3 separate regions of the Homo sapiens genome follow, and all the other regions are linked to region 3. The links are contacts of gene promoters, found by promoter capture Hi-C in human tissues and cell types (Jung and others, 2019). All regions are on one chromosome and are shown on one strand. Each heading gives the region's core, a stretch centred on a gene start or on the middle of the fragment in contact. The rest is flanking DNA. Distances are from core to core; before and after follow the strand shown. Region 1 overlaps LOC107985962 (a long non-coding RNA gene). Region 2 overlaps LOC107985962 (a long non-coding RNA gene). Region 3 holds the start of EVX2 (even-skipped homeobox 2).

Region 1 (3,729 bases), core at 643-3,142, 450 kb after region 3:
GAATGTTGTTTGTTATTAGTACATTATGAATGCCAATATCAGTTAATGCCATTGCTTCTGGGTTTGGGGAAGCAACAGAAATAGCCACATAATTGTACTGACTATGTAATGTTCTTTTTCAGGACAGCCTAGGCCTGAAGTGAGGTTGCCAAAGTTATGTTCTTTATAGATGGAATATGTTTCCTCTAGTGAGAGGCAGTTTACATGTAGGCTTGTGGTTATTAATGTTTTTAACTGATGAATTATGTTGGAATTGGTGTATCTCTGCAAAGAATATTTCCAAATGGTCTTAAAGGAATGTCATGTAGCATTTATTACAGTCATTGCAATAGGGACACCTCCCACCTGCTTTAATTTAGTGACATTACTTCTGGTTAAAAGCCTTAGGTAAGGCCACACACAGTGGCCAGTGATTTGGATAATTAGAAGGAATGGCAGAGGCCTGTCTCTTTACAAGGAAGTTAGCAGTGACATGCAATTAAAGCAAACCTTTGGGGGAAGCCAGGTACCTCTAAGGATTATAGTAGATTGGGTCAAATCAAACAATATTTATAGAATTCTCTCCTTTCACAAAGAATTTCTGCTTGCTTATTTTTAATAAATTATTTCAGAGATAATGATGTTATTTTACATAAGTAGAGCAAGAAGAAAAGTATAACTTAAGCTTTATTTTCTCATAATTTTTTGTACTACACAGGCCAGCTGCAAACAGTTCACCTGATGAAGCATCTGAACCTTACATTATCATGTATGTATTGGTGTGGTGTTTTCTGCTTTAAAAGGTGCTTTCACATCCATTACCTAGTACAATCCCCACAACTGTAAGAGGCAAGGGAAGGAGTTATTATGATGTCCTCTTCAAACAAATAAATGGAAGCTGAGCTCTGATAAGGCATTTGTCATAGTCCTTTTATGGTTGAGGCAAGACTAAAAGTTGAGTTTTATGACTCATGGTGTAATGCTCTTTCCAACATATGGAACTGTTTTCTCAAACATAAATGTATGTTCTTACTTTCTGTGCTTTCCAAGAGTACAGTTTTCTTTCTCTCCCTGAGATGCTGGGGTGGTCATGAGTGCCTTGGAGAATAAGCTGAAAGCCCTAGACTTTGTCTTCAGAGAAAAAATGGACATACTCACACAGGTAAAAATTGACATTCACCTTCAGGCCGTCTCCTAAAATCTGCCTGGGTAATAGAATAGGGTGTCTGGTAAAATACTAGCCTGGGCTTGACTCCAGCCGGGTGGGGGCACCTGGCGTTCTCAGTAAAGAAGACAAAAGCAGGAGCCAGCATACCATTAATGTTTACTTAGCCCTTACTCAACACTAGGTGCTGCACTGCACACGTCATGTTGGTTCAAACCCCACAACAACTCTTGAAGCTGAGTGTTATTATTGGATTCATTTTATGGATGAGGACACTAAGAACATCTCACCTGAATTCGAAGCCAGATGTCCACTTTCCCCCACTCTGCTACACAGCCTCCCAAAGTGATAACTACGTGTCAGTGCTGAGTTGTTTCTCTGGTCGCTGGCCCATGCCTGTGTGCGGTGGTGTGGCTGGGAAGGTGGAAAGGGTTTTTTTTTTTTTTTTTTTTTTGAAGCTTTTAGCAGTAAGGTTCCTTGGGGAAATTGTGTTCTTGGGGGTGCCAGGTTAGAACTGTTAACGACCGTAGAAATGTGAAGTGTGAAAAGTGTTCAGATACAGGGACAGAAAAGAACAGGGCAGCATCCAATGGGTGGTCCATTTCTCCTGGGACATGTGTTGGATGTTCAGCTGTCATATTAATGTTTATGTATACCATGCTACATGTTCTCGCTGACTTGGCAAATGATTCACAAAGTTACTGAAATGAATGAAGTAAACTTCTCATGGGTAGACCTGGGGCTGGGGAAAAGGAAAAGGGAAGTGCCTACATTTGGGGTTTCCTGAACCGTAAATAATGATCGTGTTGCCATTCCCAGCAATATGCTTCTGTCATTAATTAAGTTTTATGGAAAGCTATGGCGTTCATGACTTTGGCCTCTTCCCGCTCTTGATCTATGTGGTGTTATGTGGTGTAGACAGCAGTGCTCATAGGTGGGATTTGTCTGACAGGGGGATTTGAATTAGTCTGATGTAAAGTGCCTGCTAATATATGGCATGCCACTGCACTGGGTGAGTAGGAAGGGAGAAAGCAATGATGATGTTCCCCCCTGTTGCCGCTGATTATTTTTCCAGCACCTATACAAGGAATCAGAATCCTGTTTTTTGTTAGGCTTAATTTTAAGGTCAGATTTTTTTCTGGTGTCGTTGAGAGAGTTGGGCTGCCACTCAGATTCAGCAGCGTGGTGCTGTGTACTTGAGAGAAGGGTCCATAAGGTTGGGAGTAGCGGGAGATACTGGCCCCTCCGCACTCATCAGGCTCAAACATGTTCAAGACCCCAGCAAAAGAAGTCTGAGTGGAGCTTTTTGAGGTGGCCTACACCAGTGTTAACAATGCTGCCAAAAAATTATCTCTCACCATTGACCTAAAGCCCTCCTGCTAGGTTTTCAGAGCAGTGGTTTTTAAAATATTAGCGTACATCAGATCACCCGAAAGGCTTGTTATAGCACAAATTGCTGGTCCCCCTGCTCAGAGTTTCTGATTTCATAGGTCTACGGTGGTACCTGAGAATCTGCATTTGTAACAAGGTCCCAGGTGATGCTGATGGTGCTGTTTCAGGAGCCAAACTTTGAAAACTACTGCCTTAAACTGACTATAAGGGCAGCAGTTAATAATATGGGTTTGGGAGTTAGACAGCTCTGAATTCAAATCCTGTTCTGCCACTGTGAAATTCTAGAAAAGCTGCCAAGCCCAGGCTTCCTCACCTGTAGAAAGGGAATTACAAACGTTTTGTTTGTTCTGTTTTGGTTTGGTTTCGTGAGGACTGAATGAGATAATCTATGTGAAGTGCTTAGCACAGTGCCAGGCACATGGAGGTGACATTACAGATGTGAGCTCATGCTATTGATATATTCTGCCTCTTAGAGCAAGGCCTCAAGTAATGTGGCCCGCATGTTAGGGCAAAGACACCAAGCTTAAGGAATCTCTTTAAAGTTAAGAAGTCAGAGAAAATGTAGGAGAGAAGAATCAGTAAAACGAAGACCATGGGACTTCTATTCCTTAAGGCTTTCTGATGTCTTGGGAAATAGAAAAGAAAACAAGCAAAGGTATCTATTTTGTAATAAGCAGTGAGAAAGTCACTCTCCACCAAGAGATGCCTTAGGAAGATGGGATTGAAATGGGAATCCTGAACTGACCATTGGGGCTATTAGCATTTCACATGTAAATTCCAATAAAGTGTCAGATATGCAGAGGTTAGTGGACTTTTTTTCTAAATGGGCTTTATAAGTAAAAGGATAAAGGTTACACAAACCAGGGAGAGCAGCATACAACAGAGGGATGCAGCATTTTGTACAAGTGTGTTAGTCGGGATTCTCCAGAGAAACAGAGCCAAAGAAGATAGATATTTATCTATGTAAATACATAGATAATATATTTTTGGCCCATGTCTTATGCAATTATGGAGGCTGAGAAGTCCCACGATCTGTAAGCTGGAGACCCAGGAAGTCTGAAGGTGTCTTTTGAAGTCCTGAGAGCTGGAGAGCTGGAGACTGGTGTAGATTCCAGTCTCAGTCTCAGAGCCTGAGGACCAGGAGTGCTGAAGGCAGAAGATTGACATTCAGCTCAAGGAGTCAGAAAGCAAAT
Region 2 (3,985 bases), core at 965-3,464, 470 kb after region 3:
GACAAAGAACCCAAGATAACAGTGGTTTAGACGAGATTGAATTTTATTTCTCTCTCATGTAGAAATGCAGGTAGGTGGTCTGGGGCTGATATGGTGATATGGTGTTCCACACACCTTGTTTCTTTTCTGTGAGGCTGAGACATGTAGTTTTGACCACCTCATGCTTCAAAATGCTAGCATCTGCATGCTAAGGAATAGGATGAAAAAAGCAATTAAAGAGAGGAAGAGGGGAAGAGAAAAAGGGCACATGTGTGCTGTCCTCTCAGGAAGGTTTCTGGAACAACTATACAACCTTCTATTTACAACCCATTGGCCAGAACTCACACAGCCATACCTAGCTGCAGGAGAGTCTGAAAAAAAACAATCTTTGTTCTGGGAAGCCATTTGTTCAGTCAAAACCTGAGCTCATTTACAATGGTAGAATGGGACAAATGATATGAGGGAGGATGCCGTAGACTGTACAATTCTCACAAAAATGTTTGGCCCCTCATTTGCCACTAACGTCATATTCGGCCCTGTGATTTGCTTTAGACAATGAGATATAAGGCAAAGCTTTAAGAGCTGAGTGATGGTTTACCATGTCCTCTTTCTCCCATGCCCTGAGATTGGCAACATGTCAGAGGCTGTTCGGCCACTCGGGTCCTGGATATGATGACGTGAAGCACAGCTGCCACTAACCTATCACAGATATGAGACACCAGTGGAAAATAGAGCTCTGTGATCGGAAGCCACTGAGATTTGGGGACATTTGTTACTGCAGCATAACCGAACTCAGTGATTCTCAAAGTGCAATTCCGAAACCATTAGCATCAGCATCACTAGGGAATTGGTTAGAATGCAAATGCTCAGCCTCAACCTGAACTTACTGAATTAGAAACATGAGCAGCACCCAGCAATCAGTGGTTTAACAAGTCCTTCCTTCTTAAACCAAGAGAGATTCTAAATTGGGCTAAGTGTGACAGCCAGTGCTCTGGCCTATTTAGACAGATACAGGGGGGACTGACTATCTCTATCACACATGAAGGCAAAAACAGGGAGAAGGGGTTGCCATCTGTTCCTCCAGAGAGGAGAGAGAGAAGCAGCAGATTCAGTGACTACAACAGGGGAAGCGGCATCTTCCTGTCATTTGGTGTGACCTTAGCCCTAAAGGAAGAGACCACAGCTACAGAAGTTGTGAATCACAACTCTTCATTCCAGTGAGAAATCCAGTTATTGCAAGAAGAGAAACGGTTACTCCCATAGGCTTGAAGCTGCAGGAGTGGAGCCATACCTTAGAAATCTATGTCTTACTTCTTTGACCTTATGGCACCCTATTGTTATAGCTGGAGTGCACACAAAGCACTAAAACAACGTATCTTGAACATGAAAGTAACTTGCCCTATTAAATGGCCTATATCTGACTTTTTCCAGACAATACCACCTCAAAACAGTTGAGACACCCTAGGTTGTTCCAAAACATGGCTGACATGTGGGTCAATATACAGTGTCTGCATCCTGCTGAGAGCAGGATCTGAGGCTGGCCCCAGAAATTGCCAGGCTGTGGCTCTGCAGGGCTGGAAATGAGCAATGGATACATCCTCACAGAAAGCCTTCAGTGCCCATTTTCCACTCCCTGTCAGAACGTCCACATTGTCTGGATTACTCTGATCTATCAAGCAGAACTCCATGCTCTAGATGTTTTCTAACTATCCACCTTCCTCCCAGTTCTCACTCTCTCAAGACTCCAGGTGAGGAGTCATGAGAGAAATAGGCTGAAACCAAGATGTATGCTGCGTGTGGCTCTTCTAGATGTAGGGTTTTCTCAACCCTGCCAACCTATAAATGAGAGTGCCCTCTGCACAGGTGTTAGGAGATGTTCACAGGATTAAGCCTCCCATAGACCACGATGGGAAATCCAGTCAAAGCAGGGTGTGGTGCTTGAGCCCAGAAACCTCGGCAAGTAGAGGAGAGGTGGCACTGATATCCCTCCTCACTCCAGGCAAGTGAATGTATTTCCTCCTCTGGGTTTGTGAGAAATTCAGGTTTGAAAAAAAAATACCAAATAACCCTAATGAGGTGGCAATTTACCTTGAATTGGCAATATTCTACATACATTTGCCTCACAGTGTGAACCAAGCAAACCTCTCCATTGCATGAAGGAGCAAGCACCTCATTTGCTGCCCTAGGCTGAATAGTTGCCATACTTAAAAGAACAAACACAATTTCCCCAGGATACAACTTTTCATGTGCTACGGTCAGTTTTCACGCTAAGCTTTTCTATTAGTTATGTGGCATTTTCCTTAGAGCCCACGTGGAACCCACACTGTCTCCGTCCTACTGAATGCTCCTTGCAAAGAAGCCAAATGTCCTGAACGCCATGGGGGAAAAACACAGAGGAAACAGCTCCGGGCCTGACCCCTGAGCCTCTGTCCAGAGACATCTCCAGGGCAGTTGCAGGGCCCAGAACAAATCATCCCCACCATCCCCTGATATTTTTCTATAAAGGAAAATCAGATTTGAGGGAATCTCAAGGGCAGTAATGAAGGGGGCAGAAAACCAGAAGATGTCACACAAGCACATCATGAGGTTGACAGTAGGAACAAAGGAAGCTGGGCCGAAGGCAGGGAAGGAACCCAAACCCAGCGTCTCTTCTGCTTGTGGGTCTGAGAACTCCTGGGGTCTTCTGTTTAACACTGGTTACTCGGCCTTGACAGTGAATTTTAAACCTTTATTTTAGATTCTTTCTTTCCTTGGGAACAAACGGTATTGCTCTAAACTATTTAGTAGCTGTGGGAAGACTAAGACAAATAAGACAAAGGCAAGCAGCTTCCTGAAACTTCTGCCTGCCTGAAGGTATTGTATGTTGAGACCGAGGTGGGGGCCGGGGGCACGTGTTGGCCTACTTGGCTTTATTGGGATCAGTTCATAGAAATTTCTGGGCTCTGGGGCTGATGAGCCAACAGAGGAGAGGTTCCTCCTGGAATTCTGAGGTGAAAGAGATCCTCCAAGCTACTCTGTTTTGGGGTGGCTTGCTGCAGTGACCTACCCAATTAAACATGGCCATGCTATGGAAAGGGTTGCCCACAGCTGGCTGATGGCCCCCACATGTCTGACCTCTTGCCAGCATGCTCCCCATCTGTCCCTGCCCTTTTCTTCCCCCAGGTTTCTATGTCCCTATCTCTTCTTGGACTGATGTCTACTCACTCTTACAGGCAATTTTTTTGGGCCTTTCTCAATTGATAACCTAGGCTGAACAACTGCAGTGACCTCTGTCACTGCCATGATTTTCTGCAGCTCACATGAATGATTTAAAAACTACATACCTGGGCGGGGCACAGTGACTCATGCGTGTAATCCCAGCACTTTGGGAGGCTGAGACGGGTGGATCACGAGGTCAGGAGATCGGGACCATCCTGGCTAACACGGTGAAACCCGTCACTACTAAAAATACAAAAAAATTAGCCGGGTGTGGTGGCGGGTGCCTGTAGTCCCAGCTACTCGGGAGGCTGAGGCAGGAGAATGGTGTGAACCCAGGAGGCGGACCTTGCAGTGAGCCGAGATCACGCCACTGCACTCCAGCCTGGGTGACAGAGTGAGACTCCATCTCAAACAAACAAACAAACAAAAAACAAACAAAAAACTACATACCTCACCAAGTGCAGAGGCTCACACCTGTAATCCCAGCATTTTGGGAGCCTGAGACAGGAAAATTACTTGAGACCTGTCTCTACAAAATTACAGGAGTTTGAGACCTTGTCTCTACAAAAATAAACTTAAAAAATGTTTTAAATTATACACATATTCTAATAAAGGCAAATTATTTTCTATTTCTTAATGTTTATATTTACAGTCAAAACTTTTATAGCACCACAAAGGTAGAATTCAGCTAAAGATACTCACCTCCCATCTCCATCCCCACTAACCTCCCCCAGCCCAACTCTTCTTATCCTAATAGGGTCGGATCAGTTCCCATGCCTGGGAGGGGTGTGGGTGGCTTCCCTCCACA
Region 3 (3,832 bases), core at 214-2,713:
TGAGGAGCGGCCTGGAGTGAAGATTGATCTTCGTTAAAATGGTTGCCACCGGCGTCATTATGACTATCAAAGTTGTCGCCAAGAGGCTCAGCCTCCAAGCCCAGGCCGCAGAGAGCTGCTGTAAGGCTGTTCGGCGACTCTCTGCGCCCGGACCCAACGCTGGGAATACCTGTGGCCGCAGGTAAGGGGCTGGGGTTGATGAGGGGAGGAAAGAGAGAAGGAAGAAAAGCAAAGGGGAAGGGAGGGCAGCGGGGAGGTAGGGGAAGAAGGCTGTCTCCTCTTTCCTCTTTTGACCTCGAAATCCAGCGCCTTTGCCGCAAATAATTCTATTTGAGGAGGGAGGGGAAAATCTGGCAACGTGAGCGTGGATTCGGAGCGCCCGTATGGCGCTGTAAATCTCCACTGTGTTTAAAGTTAGCTGTCGAATTCTGCTATCAAATCGTCCAGCCTAGTTCGTTTCCCCTCAGGAAAATGCGTAGGCGAGAAGGCTTTCTATCAGCAGGATTATAAAAGTAAAAAACCGGGGACTTCGAGTTCAGATCTCACTCTGCAGACGGTGTTAGAAAATCAGAGAGGACCTAATGATTTCCGTTTGGAGGCGCGGGCCCAATGCACCTCCGCGGCCACGTAGCAAGAAAGCGCTTTCAAAACTCTAGGATATTTCTATTTCTCTCTCTCTCTCTCTCTCTCTTTCTCTCACTCCGTCTCCCTCTCCCTTTCTCCCTCTCTCCCTCTCTCCCTCTCTTCCGCTCTCTCTCTCTCCCGGGGTGGGAGGAGAGCATTTAGGCTGAGGTGAAGAAATAGGGAGGGAAAGAACTCCGGCGTCCTATTTGTTAAATAAAATACATATTTGGTTCCGAAATCCGAAAGATAAGTAATCCAGATAGGAGAGGCGCAAGGTCTTCTCCTTACGCAACTCTTCCTGCATCCTCCCCCTTATCTCCCCCCACTTATGCCCCCAGCTTGTAAATGGTAAAAAAAAAAAAAAAAAAAAAAAAAAAAACCAAACCTTCCCGAGGACCTACTCTGGAAAGTCAAACCATTATCTATTATTTAATACGTATCTGTGTCCAAGGAAAAATGAAGAAGGCGCTGCATGATTAGGACCTAAGGGGCAACCTAGCAAACTGAGAGCGTAATGATGCCCCTAAATGAAGGGGGAAATGTGCCGCGGCGCGCTCTATTAATCAGACTGTCAATTTCACCCCCGAGGCCAAACCCCCGGGCGAGCAGAACTGGCTCGGAGCGGGCAAAGGACCGGAGCCTTCCTCCTCACTTGTCTCTTCTCGCCTCCTACCTGGATCTATTTGTCTGCTCTGAAGCTGCCTTCATTACCCACTGACAGGAGGGTGTATTTATTTGCTTATAAACCTGTTACAATAAATGATTATTCGAACAGCGTCATTCGTACCTTAATGACGAGCGGGCGCTACTTTTTGATGAATGACATCTCGGGATCGGAAGGATGTATGGGTCATTTTGACCAGTCATTCCCTCGCTCTGGCATCCCACAATTTTTCCGCCTCCCTCCGAAAGCGATAATAATATTTAGAGGCGTTCGCTGGGGCTGAATGAGAATTAGCCCTAGGCGCAGCCTATCATTAGGACGGGACAGCAGGGCCACTGTGACATTTTTAAGAAAGCTGAGATGATGGAAAGAATAAGAAAAGAGATGATTCTGATGGAGAGAGGGCTGCACAGCCCTACGGCGGGCAAGAGATTCTCCAATTTGTCCAACTCGGCTGGCAATGCTGTGCTCGAGGCCCTGGAAAATTCGCAGCACCCGGCTCGCCTAAGCCCGCGCCTGCCGTCTGCCCCCCTGCACAGCGCTCTGGGAGAACTCCCCGCCAAGGGCAAATTCGAAATAGACACTTTGTTCAACCTGCAGCACACGGGCAGCGAAAGCACCGTCTCCTCCGAAATCTCCTCCGCCGCCGAGAGCCGCAAGAAGCCGGGCCATTATTCAGAGGCGGCCGCTGAGGCCGACATGAGCAGCGACGTGGAGGTGGGCTGCTCCGCGCTTCGCTCCCCCGGGGGCCTCGGCGCCGCTCAGCTTAAGGAAAACAATGGCAAAGGTAACCGCGCCGGCCGCACCGCGCTCTCCAGTCCCATCCTCTTTGCTCCTCCGCGGCCCCCGCCAGCCTTTCCCGGTGCCTTTTCCCCTCTCAGACCCTCCACAGGCAAGCTACACCGAGCTAGCACGGGCGGGGGCGGGACGCATGTCTGGGACCGTGCCTTCCAGTTCTGCTCCTTGAGCTTTCCCGCCAGGCTCAGGCCTGCGGAGCCTGGAACACCAGGCCCACCCGCCCTCGCTCCTGAGTCCGAGAAAATGTTTCTGCGCTCGTGTCTAAGAGCCCGAGCGAGCCGGTAGACCCCTAGTCAGCAGCCGAGTTGCTTTTGGGAAAGGTACCCTGGGCAACTACTCTGAACTCCCCTGCCCCTGTGCCCTCAGGGCTGGAGGGGGCATTCTTCTGGGTAAGTCGGAGGAAGCCTCGCCGGCGTCTCTGTTTAGGTCAGCGGGAGAAAGAGTTGAAAAGTATATTTCACCCCCTATTGGCTTGGGTTTGAGCTACTGCTGTGTTGGAACTCTTAAAATATTTGAAACCCCGAAGACTCAGATAAAGGTTAGAGGCCGTATAAAAAGCTGCCCTGCGGTCTCCAGACCATGGGAAACCCAGAGCTTCCCAAACTGCGCCCAGAGGTAGGCATTTTCCCTCGGCCACTTTTCCTCCTTGGTTGAAAATTTCTAATTATTAAAAAAGAAATCTCCTAATTCCGTTTCTATTATTTGCTTATGAAGGGCTCCCCAAACTTTATTGATTCCATTAACGGCAGCAATTTGTAAGCATGACAGACCCCATCAATTCCGGCAGCGACTCTCCTTCCTGACGGGGCTTCCCCGATCCGCGCGCAGCGCCAGCGCCGGGCTGTTGGTCCTACAGCCACTCATGCGCTGTTGGTCGTTTGTTTGCCAGGGTACGCAGAGAGCGGCTCGGCTGCCGGCACCACGACGTCGGCGTCGGGCTCAGGCCTCGGAAGCCTGCATGGAGGCAGCGGAGGCAGCGGCGGGAGCGCGGCGCTGGGTGGCTCCGGCTCTGGCGCGGATCAAGTGCGGCGCTACCGTACGGCGTTCACCCGCGAGCAGATCGCGCGCCTGGAGAAGGAGTTCTACCGGGAGAACTATGTGTCGCGGCCCCGCCGGTGCGAGCTGGCCGCGGCACTCAACCTGCCCGAAACCACCATCAAGGTATCAATTCCAGTGCATGCCTGCTCTGGCCTCCCCGGGGGCATCTGGGTTGATTGTTTCTTTTTCCCCTTTCCCCTTTCTGGGTGGCTAGATTTAGCTAAGGGTCTGGAAATCCGCGGGGGGTAGTCACCAAAGGAATTGGCTTATTTATTTCCCGGCCACCGAATCCGAACGGTTGTCCGGCCTGACGGATCTAAGAAGGCCCCCGAATGGTGACTCCAATGCTGAAAGCACTCGCCCCTGCTCCATTGTGCCCAACGCCTGGCCAGATGCCCCCTCGCCCATACCCACGGCCCCACTTTCCCCTAGGCGGCAAGCCCAGTTGGTCTTTGTTCCTCAAGCAGGAACCAGAGGTGAAACTTTTCATTTGCTCTTGAGCTTGGAGATTTATTTTCCGCATAAATCGTTACACGGAGAAAAGGATACTGTATCTTTAAAATCGATTGGTTTGAGACAGTAGTTTCCTGAACATTTTCCTCTTGGGCAACGAAAAAAGGGCAACCTCCTGCGGGGAAAAATGCAACGAAATTGTCCTTATTTATATATAACTTTAGGTTATTAATTTTATTATACGTCTGGGAGAGA

What was found. Contacts are between HindIII fragments. The study calls those that stand out against the background at their distance.
Region 1: a contact is called between a fragment that was not itself captured here and the fragment with the promoter of EVX2 in region 3, in 1 of the 25 tissues and cell types used here (spleen).
Region 2: a fragment that was not itself captured here is called in contact with the fragment with the promoter of EVX2 in region 3 in 1 of the 25 tissues and cell types used here (spleen).

What each region holds. Positions count from the first base shown.
Region 1 is chr2:175,628,608-175,632,336 of GRCh38, reverse strand. It overlaps LOC107985962 (a long non-coding RNA gene), which reads left to right. Exons shown (of 4, transcript XR_007087312.1): 4 at 1-3,729. Among named protein-coding and RNA genes, the nearest start is that of LNPK, 370 kb to the left of the region's middle. The HindIII fragment of the contact is 4,114 bases long and covers 1-3,729 here.
Region 2 is chr2:175,608,061-175,612,045 of GRCh38, reverse strand. LOC107985962 (a long non-coding RNA gene) reads left to right here. Exons shown (of 4, transcript XR_007087312.1): 4 at 1-3,985. Among named protein-coding and RNA genes, the nearest start is that of LNPK, 390 kb to the left of the region's middle. The HindIII fragment of the contact is 4,145 bases long and covers 142-3,985 here.
Region 3 is chr2:176,081,593-176,085,424 of GRCh38, reverse strand. It overlaps EVX2 (even-skipped homeobox 2), which reads left to right and starts at 1,463. Exons shown (of 3, transcript NM_001080458.2): 1 at 1,463-2,075; 2 at 2,976-3,247. The coding sequence starts at 1,649. RefSeq lists an enhancer at 2,089-2,704. The HindIII fragment of the contact is 9,267 bases long and covers 1-2,038 here.